2 separate regions of the Homo sapiens genome follow, and region 1 is linked to region 2. Evidence: promoter capture Hi-C in 16 types of primary human blood cells and fetal thymus (Javierre and others, 2016). All regions are on one chromosome and are shown on one strand. The core of a region is centred on a gene start or on the middle of the fragment in contact, and the rest is flanking DNA. Distances in the headings are between cores, read along the strand shown.

Evidence for each region. Contacts are between HindIII fragments. The CHiCAGO score rates a contact against its expected background, and 5 or more counts as called.
Region 1: the fragment with the promoter of ATP4A here is called in contact with a fragment that was not itself captured in region 2 in 5 of 17 cell types (M2 macrophages, M1 macrophages, neutrophils and 2 more); the score reaches 7.6 in M2 macrophages.

The regions. Positions count from the first base shown.
Region 1 is chr19:35,561,039-35,567,612 of GRCh38, forward strand. It overlaps ATP4A (ATPase H+/K+ transporting subunit alpha), which reads right to left and starts at 2,620. Exons shown (of 22, transcript NM_000704.3): 1 at 2,580-2,620; 2 at 2,346-2,489; 3 at 2,171-2,230; 4 at 1,397-1,600. The coding sequence starts at 2,591. RefSeq lists an enhancer at 3,775-4,276. The HindIII fragment of the contact is 9,853 bases long and covers 1-5,578 here.
Region 2 is chr19:35,832,052-35,838,256 of GRCh38, forward strand. NPHS1 (NPHS1 adhesion molecule, nephrin) reads right to left here. Exons shown (of 29, transcript NM_004646.4): 23 at 3,654-3,710. Among named protein-coding and RNA genes, the nearest start is that of NPHS1, 17 kb to the right of the region's middle. The HindIII fragment of the contact is 4,977 bases long and covers 1-3,759 here.

The DNA.
Region 1 (6,574 bases), core at 1,370-3,869, 270 kb before region 2:
TTTCCCCACCTACTAGGAAGCTCCATGCACCATTCCCTGTAGCCTTTAGCCCCCTCCCATGTCCCTCATGTCCCACACTCGCCTGCTCTGTCTTCTCAGTGTCTTGTGTTTCTGTGTATATTTCATATCCTCTGGCCCTGAATCCTCAATCTTCCATGTCCCCATATCTGTGACTTGTGCCCCAAATCACTGTGTGCCTTGGTCTGACGTGTTCCCTTCTCCTGTGTCCCCAAGCCTTGCATTCCCCATGTCCACTGTCCCATGTCTCCTCCTGTCCCCATGGCCTGTATTCCCCGTGTCTCCAGTTTCACATCCTGGGTTTTCCATAATCTGCTGCCACCCTCTGTGTGTCCCCTGGGCCCCCTTGTCCCTGCATCCTCACATCCCCGTCCCTGCGTGTGCTGCAGACCTTGTACGTCATGGTCTGTGTCCTCTGTGGCCACGGCCCCCATGTTCTAGCTCCCCAGTCACTGTGTCCCGTGTCTCCCATGTCTGTGTATCTCCGAGTTCCCATCCTGTGTCCCATGGCCATGACTTTTCGAGCCTCTGTCCCATGTCACATGTCCCTGAGTCCCCATGTCCCTTGCCCTCATCTCTGCCATATGTCCAATGTCCCTTGCCCTGCACCTCCATTTCCTCTCTGTCTCTGTGCTTCTATGTCTCATGTTTTGTGTCTCTCTATGTGCTGTGTCCTGAGGCTTGGGTCCCTGCCCTGGTGTCCTATGTCTGAGTCCCAGGGTCTCCTATTCCCCGTGCCTCAGTCTGTCCTGTGTCTGCACTGCATGTCCTCTGCTTCCAAGTCCCATCTCTTTTTTTTTTTTTTTTTTTTTTTTTTAAGATGCAGTCTCGCTCTGTCGCCCAGGCTGGAGTGCAGTGGCATGGTCTTGGCTCACTGCAACATCCACCTCCTGGGTTCAAATGATTCTCCTGCCTCAGCCTCCCAAGTAACTGGGATTACAGGTGCCCGCCACCATGTCTGGCTAATTTTTGTAATTTTAGTAGAGATGGGGTTTTGCCATGTTGGCCAGGCTGGTCTCGAACTCCTGACCTCAGGTGATCTGCCCGCCTCGGCCTCCCAAAGTGCTGGGATTACAGGCATGGGATTACACGCCCGGCCTCCAAATCCCATCTCTTACGTATCACATTGCCATACTCTTTATGCCCCCACCTATGTCCCCATACCCAAGATTCACCCCAGTGTCCCTGTGTCCTGTGTCCTTGGGTCTGCCCCATCCATATCCCAATGTCCTTCACCCTCCATGACCCCTGTCTTGAGACTGCCTTTCGTGTTCGTCTATCCCCATCCTTCTCTGCCCCTCTTGTCCCAAGTCCCAGGCTCAGTGTCTTCCATCCCCAGGTCCCCATGTCCTGAGCCTGTCCCCACAACATGGCTCACATTGTCGTCGGTGGTGAGGTCCCCCTCACTAGCCTGGATGGCAAAGGCGATGAGGCAGATGGCGGCGGCAACCCACATGAGGCACTGCAGGCCCCCGGCCAGCTGCCTCGCGAACTTGACGTACTCTGGGGTGCCCCGTGGTGGCCGCAGTGCGTTGGGCCCATCCCGCAGCAGCAGCTCAGCAGCCAGGCTCGCAGAGAGGCCCTGGGACAGAGGGGCAGGGCGAGGCGGTCCTGGGGGCTTTCCTCCACATGCACACCCCGTGGAAAGCCCCCTGCTTCAGTTTCCCTTCTCCAGCTTGGTCTGTCCTGCTCCTTCTCATCTCTTTGTCTCTTGGTTCCTGCCCCCACCCCATCTCTCCCTCCCTCCTTCATCTCTCCCTTTGTCTCTCTCTCCTCGCTCCCCTTTCTATGTGTCTCTCTCCTGCTGCTCTCTCCTTATTTGTCTCTGCCTTCTCTGTCTTGCTGTCTCTTTTCAGCTACTCCTCTCTCCGTCTCTGTGTGTCACCCTTTCTCTCTAATGCTTTCTCCCTTCTCTCCCTCTCCCTCTCTCTCCCTCTCTCCATCTCCCTCCCTCTCTCCTCCCCTCCCTCCATCCTTTCCTCTCTCCCTCCCTCCCTCTTTCCTTTTCTGCCTCCCTCCCTCTCTCTATTTCTCCATATCTTCCTCTCTTCATCTCTCCCTCTCTCTCCCTCTCTCCATCTCCCTCCTTCCATCTCCCTCTCCCTCCCTCTCTCCTCCTCCCCTTTCTGTACGCTCCCAGTCTCCAGCTCACCTTGGTGGCACTGGTCTGGTATTTCTGTTCCAGCTCCGCCACTGACAGCTGGTGGTCGTTCTGTGTGGTGGGGTGGGGCAGGGTGCTTGCTCTGGGCTCTCCTGGCCCCCTCCCCGCCCACTGCCTGGTTCCCAGCCTACCCTCCAGCTCCCGCCCCTCCCCAGTCAGAGCTCACAATCTCCATCTCCTTCTTCATGTTCTCCAGCTTCTCCTTCCTCTTGCCACCCCCGCCACCCGCCTTCTTCTTCTTGCTCATCTTGGCAGCCATGTCCCCGCCAGGGCCAGGACCCAGCTCCACCGAGTAGAGCTCATAGTTCTCCTGGGAATGGACAGGATGGAGGGAGGGAGAACTCAGATTCCACTGCAACCCCTGTCCCCACTGCACCCCGGACCCCTGGGCCCCACTCACGGCCTTCCCCATGGTGCCCGGTGCCTGTGCTCCCACCCAACAGAGCCTGGGCCCGGACCAGTCCTGATATACCCAGGGAGGGCGGTGGGGTGGAGCAGAACCGCCCGACCACAGCTGATTACAGGCTCCTTGGGGTGACCTCTAGGCCTGGGCACCTCAGGCATTCCCTCCTGGGCTGGCCCCCCCCTCCCCTGCCCAGATCCCCCCATGTCAACCTGCCCTGAGATCAGGGAGCCCCTGGGAACCGCTGCAGCAACAAGAAGAGCAAACATAAGGTGCTCATTATGCGCTGGGCATTGTGCTGACGGCTTCCATGTGCTAACTTATTTAACCTTCCAATAACCCTTTGAGGGGACAAGACCCTTTACAGATGGGGAAACTGAGGCATGGAGGGGTTGAGTCATTCTCCTATGGCTCCATCACAGGCTAGGACATAATGGAGTGAGAACCAGATCAGCTGGCTGCAGAGTGTCCTCTTTCAGTCTAAATAGCACGTGCCTGATCAACTGGAAGAGGAGGGTGCTCCCACACTCTTTTTTTTTTTCTTTTTTTTTTTGAGATGGAGTGTCACTCTGACACCCAGGTTGGAGTGCAGTGGTGCAATCTCAGCTCGCTGCAACCTCCGCCTCCCGGGTTCAAGTGATTCTCCTGCCTCAGCCTCTTGAGTAGCTGGGACTACAGGCACATGCCACCACACCCAGCTAATTTTTGTACTTTTAGTAGAGACGGGGTTTCACCAGGTTGGCCAGGCTGGTCTCGAACTCCTGACCTCAGGTGATCCACCCGCCTTGGCCTCCCAAAGTGCTGGGATTACAGGCGTGAGCCACCATGCCCTGCCATGCTTACAACACTCTCTATGGTGGCTGAATGTTTACTGAACTCTGACTATTCACTATGGGCTGGGTGTGCTCTGTGTGTCACTCAAATGGTTTCCTTAGCATCTAACAGCAGCCCTGTAAAGCAATATTCTCTTCTTAGCCCCCATCAGGGACTTTGCAGAAGATTTCAACGTCTAAGAATTAGGGACAGGGTTCCAGCCCGGGCTTGACCCCAGGGCTTGACCCCAGAGCCTAGCTCTTCTATGGCACCACCAATGGAAAAACCCAAACTTCACTGCAGCAGCACCACACACATGCCAGGCTCTGCACGTGTGACCTCACGGGTCTTTGCAAAAAACCCTGTGCAGGCAGAACTATCATTCCTGTTGTGCAGAGGGGGAAACTGAGGCTCACAGGGACTCACATATCCAGCTACAGACTTTACAGCTCTCAACCATTCCCCGTCCCTACCCTAGATGGGGAAACCAAGGTGCAACATGGGGAAAGGATGTGTCCAAGGGTCTTGGCTTGATCTTGGTGTTGGGTGACAGATGCCAGGAGGCCTGGGGACTCCCTCCTCATCCCTCAGGTAGGGACCTCCATGGGCAGCAGCAGCGAGGGGCTGGGCCAGTGGAATGGTGGGGACCTTGGTATGTTATGGGGTGAGCGTGTCTCCAGGAGCAGGTGAGCGTGCGCCTGATAAGATAACTGCCCTGGCAATGTCCTTCTCTACTGGGGCAGGTCACCTGGGAAACTCAAAGCTGTTGGGCAGCCAGAGCTCCTCCCCGCACCCACACGGCTGGTCATCCCCAGCCTGCTAGAAGAAACCTCCAAAGAAGAGGTGGCGTGGGGCCACATGCTGTCCTTGTAGTGAATCTACTCGCTCACTGGGCTCCCATCAGCTCTGAGCCATGTATGTCAAACAGCTTGTGTCACCCCCTGCTTACAACCCTCCAAAGCCTTCCCTTCCCACTCAGAATAAACTCTGCACTCCTTCCTGCAACATCTGGCCCTGGTCACCTGTCCTGCCTCTGTTGCTGCTAGGTTTCCAGGGGCACTGACCTCTCTGCTGCACTTTGCACAGACCAAGGTCGTTCCTGCTTCAGGACCTTGGTACTTACAGTTCCTTCTGCCTGGGCCCCCTTCCTTAGATGTCTGCACTGGCTTTCTCACCTCTTTCAGGTCTCAGCTCAAATGTCACCTCTTCAGAGAGTCCATTCTGTAATACTGCACACTGTGTTCTGTTCCTTTACCCCACTGTATTTACACCTCCTACTCCAACCTGACACTGTGTTTTCTTTTTATTTGTTTGGTGTTCATTAGAAGGAGGACTGGGCCGGACACTGTGACTCACATCTGTAATCCCAGCACTCTGGAAGGCTGAGGTGGACGGATCATGAGGTCAGGAGTTCGAGACCAGCCTGGTCAACATGGTGAAACCCTGTCTCTACTAAAAATACAAAAATTAGCTGGATGTGGTGGTGTGTGCCTGTAATCCCAGCTACCAGGGAGGCCGAGGCAGGAGAATCACTTGAACCTGGGAGGTGAAAGTTGCAGTGAGCCGAGATCATGCCACTGCACTCCAGCCTGGGTGACAGAGTGAGACTCTGTCTCAAAAAAAAAAAAAAAAAAAAATAGAAAAATAGATAGATAAGAGATGTTAGACAGATAGATGGATACATAAATGATAGATGATTGATAGATTTTTTTTTTTTTTCTTTTTGAGACAGAGTCTTTCTCTGTCGCCCAGGCTGTAGTGCAGTGTCATGATCTCGGCTCACTGCAACCTCTGTCTCCTGGATTCAAGCAATTCTTGTGCCTCAGCCTCCCAAGCAGCTGGGATTACAGGCACCCGCCACCATGCCCAGCTAATTTCTGTATTTTTAGTAGAGACGGGGTTTCACCATGTTGGCCAGGATGGTCTAGAACTCCTGGTCTCAAGTGATCCACCCGCCTTGGCCTCCCAAAGTGCTGGGATTACAGGTGTGAGCCACCATGCCTGGCCAGAATTTTTTAAATTTTTGGCTGAATCATTTGGAAGCAAGTTGGAGACAGGATCCCCTTTATCCATACTTAGGCATGTGTCTTCTATGAATAAGGACATTTTCTTACATAAGCACAGTCTAATAATCAAATTCAGGAAATTAACATTAATAAAACACTAGTAAATAATCTAGAGCAAGCTTGTCCAACCCATGGCCTGCAGGCCATATGTGGCCCAGGACTGCTTTGAATGCTGCCCAATACAAATTCGTAGACTTTCTTAAAACATTATGAGATTTGTTTGCGATTTTTTTTTTTTTTAGCTCATCAGCTATTGATAGTGTTAATGTATTTTATGTGTGACCCAGGACAATTCTTCTTCCAATGTGGCCCAGGGAAGCCAAAAGATTGGACACCCATGATTTGGAGGATTTATTTGAATTTCCCCAGTTTTCCCACTAATGTCCTTTTCCTAGTCCAGGATCCAGTCCGGGACCACACCTCACATTTTGGCTTCCTCCATTGCGTAACAATTCCTCCATCTTTCCTTGTCTTTCATGACCTGGGCGTTTTGGAAGAGTATGATTCAGTGATTTTGTAGACTTCGCTCAGTGTGGCTTTGCTGCTGGTTCTTCGTGATTAAGTTCGGGTTGTGTGCTGGCAGGAACACAGAAGGGATGTGTGTCCCCCCCATCCCCTGCCCCAGAGCATCATCGTGTCAGGCCATGCCCCATTTTGGAGTCTGTAACTTGTCTAGAGCAGGGTGGACATGGTGGGGAGGGGTCTCAAGAGCCTTAGGGAGTGATCAGGAAACCATTCTATGCCCTCTTTAATTTTTACTCAAGACAGTGCCACAGCCAGGGCTGGCACCCAGCTGCCCTGGTAGTTAAAGTAATTGAAAGAAATACAGCCACTGCCTGAGCCCCCAGCACTTCCCCTAAGACTCCAGACCTCCCACACCCAACCCCTTAAAGTGGATGCCTGTGCCAGTCCCAAGGCCTTGTCCTTTTTTTTTTTTTTTTTTTTTGAGACGGAGTCTGGCTCTGTCACCTAGGCTGAAGTGCAGTGGCACGATCTTGGCTTACTGCAACCTCCACCTCCTAGGTTCAAGCGATTCTCCTGCCTCAGCCTCCCAAGTAGCTGGGACTACAGGCACGTACCACCATGCCCAGCTAATTTTTGTATTTTTAGTAG
Region 2 (6,205 bases), core at 21-2,520:
TGTGGTCCAGCCTCTTCCCACGCCTCCAGCCATGCCCACCAAACTTAGACCCTGGTACTGGACTGTCCAGCCACACAAATCAACCACCAGCTGTTTCCAGAATCACTGAAGCAAATTCACACCTCAGAGCTTTGGAATAGTTAAGTGTCTGTCCTCAAATGTCCTTTCTTCTCAAGCAAACTTCTGTTTGCCTTTCAAATTCTATCTCAAGGTCAGGCGCTGCAGCACATGCCTGTAATCCCAGCATGTTGGGAGGTCAAGGTGGGAGAATCGCTTGAGCCTAGGAGCTCAAGACCAGCCTAGGCAACATAGTGAGGCTGATTCTTTACAAAAAAAATTAAAAATTTAGCAGCATGGTGGTGCATGTCTATAGTCCCAGCTACTCGGGACACTGAAGCAAGAGGATTGCTTGAACCTGGTAAGTCAAGGCTCCAGTGAGCTATGATAGCACCACTGCACTCCAGCCTGGGCAGCAGAGCAAGACCCTGCCTCTGAAAAAAAAATCCCATCTCAAGGACTTCTTTATTTTATTTTGTTTTTTAATTAAGACGGAGTTGGCTGGGCACGGTGGCTCACGCCTATAATCCCAGCACTCTGGGAGGCTGAGGGGTTGGATCACAAGGTCAGGAGTTCAAAACCAGCCTGGCCGATATGGTAAAACCCTGTCTCTACTAAAATACAAAAAATTAGCTGGGTGTGGTGGCAGGCACCTGTAGTCCCAGTTACTTGGGAGGCTGAGGCAGGGGAATCACTTGAACTGGGGAGGCAGAGGTTGCAGTGAGCCGAGATCACGCTACTGCACTCCAGCCTGGGTGACAGAATGAGACCCTGTCTCAAAAAAAAAAAAAAAAAAAAAAGAGTCTCACTCTTTCACCCAGGCTGGAGTGCAGTGGCATGATCTTGGCTCACTGCAACCTCCACCTGCAGGGTTCAAGCGATTCTTCTCCCTCAGCCTCCCAAGTAGCTGGGATTACAGGCGCATGCCACCACACCCGGCTAATTTTTTTTTTTTTTGTATTTTTAATAGAGACGGAGTTTCGCCATGTTGGACAGGCTGTTCTTGAACTCCTGGCTTCAAGTGGTCTGCCCACCTTGGCGTCCCAAAGTGCTGGCATTATAGGCGCGAGCCACCGTGCCCAGCCTCAAATGACTTCTTTCCACCAACTTCCATCCCAGCCAATATCAGGCTGACTTGGCTGCTATATCCCTGAGGACAAGGCTGAACCCCTCTAAGTAGGCATCTGTTGGGCGGGCAATCTCCCCTGTCTTCTACTAATAGCACTTTTTTCCCCTGGGGAGAACAGCCACTCCCCAATCTCAGTCTTGGGTTCAGGCAGGACTCCACAGTGGGCACATGGCCCGGCCTGGAAAATAAGAGTCTCCATTCCTCTCTCCACAGTGATTGTTTAGACACAGGCATTTGACCCAACGTGTGTTTTTAACAAAACATTTAGGACAATTCTACTAGCTGTCAAGAAGATGGAGGTGGAGGAGGGCTTCTCTGCCCCTCTGATTGAAGAAACTCAGAAAGAAGCCACCACAGATGAAGGCAAAGTTGAGAGAGGGTGAGAAACAGATCGCTGGTGAGATTTTTGAGCACCTGAAAGTGGCCACACTTGGAATTTTTTATTTCATATACCAAGACTTTTTCTTTTTTTTCTTGAGACAGGGTCTCAACTCTGTTGCCCAGGCTGCAGTGCAGTGGCGTGAGCTCGGCTCATTGAAGGCTCAACCTCCTGGGCTCAATCAATCCTCCCGCATCAGCCTCCTGAGTAGCTGGGACTGCAGGCATGCACTGCCATGCCTGGCTAATTTTTTTTGTTTTTGTTTTATAGAGATGGGGTTTCACCATGTTGCCCAGGTTTGTCTCCAACGTCTGGGCTCAAGTGATCTACCTGCCTCAGCCTCCCAAAGTTCCGGGATTATAGGCATGAGCCACTGTGCCCAGCCAAGCCATTCTTTTTCGTGTTGACAAAACAGCTGCATTTCTGTCACTTGCAACCTTTTTCTCGGGCTCTGAAGGGGATTTTTTTGCCAAATGGTTGCAATCATCTCCCAGTAGTCACATCCTTGAGTGCGGGGCCTTTCCACACTGACTCTGTGTTGAGCCATGTGACTTGCTTTGGCCAATGAGACACAACTATGACGGAATCAGCTAGTAAATTGCTGCTTTTGACCCCCGTGACCACCTCCATGTGAAAAAGTCAAGAAGAGACACGCGCCCAGTTATCTCCATTGTTCCAACCAAGAGCCAGATGACTATCAGAAGTGTGGGAAGGGGGCAACCCTAGACCACCCAGTCCAGTGGAGCTGCCAGCTGACTGCAGAGATGATTTAAGCCAGCCCAGACCAGCACTGTTCCGCCAGACTCAGAATCATGAGGAAGAATGTTGCTATAAGCACCCATGTTTGGGGTGGTTCATTATACAGCAAAAGCTAACTGATGCAGGCTTCTTACAGGACATGGAGTGAGCTAATTCTTACGGAATTAAACTAAATTTGGAAGAGAAGAAAATTTATCACTCCAGGCAAGAGGAAGATCTAAGAAAAAAAAAATTGGCCAGATGCAGTGGCTCACGCCTGTAATCCCAGCACTTTGGGAGGCTGAGGTGGGTGAATCATGAGGTCAGGAGTTAAAGACCATCCTGGCTAACGCGGTGAAACCTCATCTCTACTAAAAATACAAAAAATTAGCTGGGCGTGTTGGCACGTGCCTGTAGTCCCAGCTACTCGGGAGGCTGAGGCAGGAGAGGAAGCCGGGAGGTGGAGATAGCAGTCAGCCGAGATCGCACCACTGCACTCCAGCCTGGGCAACAAACAGAGCAAGAATCCATCTCAAAAAATAAAAAAATAAAAAAAAAAAATGCCGAGTGCCGTAGCTCATGCCTGTTATCCCAGCACTTTGGGAAGCTGAGGCAGGCAGATCACTTGAGGTCGGGAGTTCGAGACCAGCCTGGCCAACATGGTGAAACCCCGTCCCTACTAAAAAAGTACAACAATTAGCCAGGTGTGGTGGCAGGTGCCTGTAATCCCAGCAACTCGGGAGGCTAAGGCAAAAGAATCGCTTGAACCTGGGAGGTGGAGGTTGCAGTGAGCCAAGATTTTGCCACTTCACTCCAGCCTGGGCAACAGAATGAGACTCTGTCTCAAAAAAAAAAAAAAAAAAAAGAAAGAAAGAAAGAAAAAAGAGGAAGCTCTAAGGAGTCTGCAAGTCTGCAATTCTGCAGGGACAGAACTAAGTCTTTTTTTTTTTTTTTTTTTTTTTTGAGATAGGGTCTCCCTCTGTTGCCAAGGCTGGAGTGCAGTGGCTCAGTCATAGCTCACTGCATCCTCCAACTCCTGGGCTTATGCAATCCTCCCACCTCAGCCTTCTGAGTAGTTGGGACTACAGGCACATGCCACTACACCCAGCTATTTTTTATTTTTGCAAAGATGGAGTCTTGCTATGTTGCCCAAGCTGGTCTCAAACTCCTGGGCTCAAGTGATCACATGCCTTGGCCTCCCAAAGTGTTGGGATTACAGGCGTGAGCGACTGAGCTTGGCCAGAACTAAGTCGTTAAGCAGCTGTGACTACAAGCAGAGGAGGTAGGGTCAGAGACCAGGAGGTTCCATTCTCAGGGGAGCCGGGAGGGATCAGGGGACTGAGGACTTGCCTGAAGGTGGCTCTGTGGGCAGCTGGTCTTCAGGTTCTCCAGAAGGCTGGTGGAGACCTGGGGGGTGGATATACAGATTGTGACTTAACACTAAGAATCTGAGATAAGCTTTAAATATTTCTCAGCCTCTTCTTAAGCCTATTAGATTCATGGGAACTGGTATATGACTGCTTAAGAATATTTCAAAGAGAGCTAGAAATTGCTGATAATAATGACAATACTATTAATAGCAATTCTAATGGTAACGCTAATGCTAAGAATAATTTGTTTTTTGAGACTGAACCTCTCTCTATTGCCCAGGCTGGAGTGCAGTGGCGCAATCTCAGCTCACTGAAACCTCTGCCTCCCGGGTTCAAGCAATTCTCCTGCCTCAGCCTCCCAAGTAGCTGGGACTACAGGCACCTGCCACTATGCCTGGCTAATTTTTTGTATTTTTAGTAGAGATGGGGTTTCACCATGTTGGCCAGGCTAGTCTCGAACTCCTGACCTCGTGATTCGCCCACCTCGGCCTTCCAGAGTGCTGGGATTACAGGCGTGAGCCACTGCGCCTGGCCATTTTTTTTTTTTTAAAGAGACAGGGTCTCACTCTGTCGCTCAGGCTGGAGTGCAGTGGTATGATCATAGCTCACTGCAGCCTCGACCTCCTGGGTTCAAGCTATCCTCCCGCCTCAGACTCCTGATTAGCTGGGACTACAGGCATGCATCACCATGCCTGGCCCAAAAATTAACTGTTGATGAGCACTTTCGGTGTGCAAGGTCCTTTTCACCCGAATTATCAATTTGTTGAGTTAACCAAAAAAGACTTTGGGCTCTCGATCCCTTAATAAAGGTACAAGTTCTAAAGCAAAGGAGGCAAGTGTCATACTTTATGTTTTAGTGTTCAAAGGGAAGACTGGAGTGGGGTGGGGGGAAGAGCAGAGAAGATTGTAGGGGTGAAAAAGTGTCCTTACTTCCATTGAGAAAAAGCCTGCTCTGTCAGGAAGAGGAAAACAGAAAGGAGAAGCTTGCGGCCAGGAGTGGTGGCACACGTCTGTAATCCCAGCACTTTGAGAGACTGAGGCAGGTGGATCACCTGAGGTTAGGACTTTGAGACCAGCCTGGCCAACATGGTGAAACCCTGTCTCTACTAAAAAATACAAAAATTAGCCAGGCGTGGTGGTATGCACCTGTAATCCCAGCTACTTGGAAGGCTAAGGCAGGAGAATTGCTTGAACCTGGGAGGCAGAGGTTGCAGTGAGCCGAGATCATGCCACTGTACTCCAGCCTGAGTGACAGAGCAAGATTCCATTGCAAAAAAAAAAAAAAAGAAAGAAAAGAAAAGAAAAGAAAGAAAGAAAGAAAGAAAGAAAGAAAGAAAGAAAGAAAGAAAAATAAACTGAGCCACAAAGATCTGTGCTATATATTTTTAGAAACTGAGACACTTGCCTATGGTCACACAACTAAGAGGTAGCAGAGAGGGGATTTGAACCCAAGCTTCTCTGGACCAGGCTCTGAAGGATTTACCACTACAATACTGTGCCTATCAGAATTGTAACATATTCATCATATTCAAGGAATTTGTCCTTCTCATCCAACTTGCTGAATTTATTGGAATAAAGTTATCCATAATATTCCCTAATTATCCTCTTAATGTCTGTGGAGTCTGTGGTAACATCCCTTCTTCCATTCCTGTTATTGGTAACTTGTATTTTCTCCCTTTTATTTGTCTTAATCAGATTTATAAATGTTATTGATTTTTTTCAAATAACCAGCTTCTGGTTTCATTGATTTTCTCAATTGTTTTTCTGTTTTCTAATTCATTCATTTCTGCTCTTACCATTATTATTTTCTTCTTTCTGTTTACTTTGGGTTTAATTTGTTCGTCTTTTATTAGCTTCTTTCTTTCTCTCTCTCTCTCTCTCTCTCTTTCTTTCTTTAGATGGAGTTTTGCTCTTGTTGCCCAGGCTGGAGTACAATGGCACCATCTCTGCTCACTGCAACCTCTGCCTCCCAGGTTCAAGTGATTCTCTTGCCTCAGCCTCCCAAGTAACTGGGATTACAGGCATGTGCCACCACACCCGGCTAATTTTGTATTTTCAGTAGAGACAGGGTTTTTCCATGTTGGTCAGGCTGGTCTCAAACTCCCGACCTCAAGTAATACACCCGCCTTGGCCTCTCAAAGTGCTGGGATTACAGGCATGAGCCACAGTTTCTTAAGATGAAAACTTAGAATATGCATTTGAGGTTATTCTCTTAAAAAAAAAAAAAAAAAAAAAACGAAAACTAGTCCAGTCGTGGTGGCTCACACCTGTAATCCCAACACTTTGGGAGACCGAAGCTGGTGGATCACCTGAGGTCAGGAGTTCGAGATCAGCCTGGACAACATGGTGAAACCCTGTCTCTACTAAAAAATACAAAAAATTACAGGTGCATGCCTGTAATCCCAGCTACTTGGGAGGCTGAGGCAGGAAAATTGCTCAAACCCAGGAGGCGGGGGTTGCAGTGAGCCGAGACGGCACCATTGCACTCCACCCTGGGCAACAAGAACAAAACTGCGTCTCAGAACAAAAACA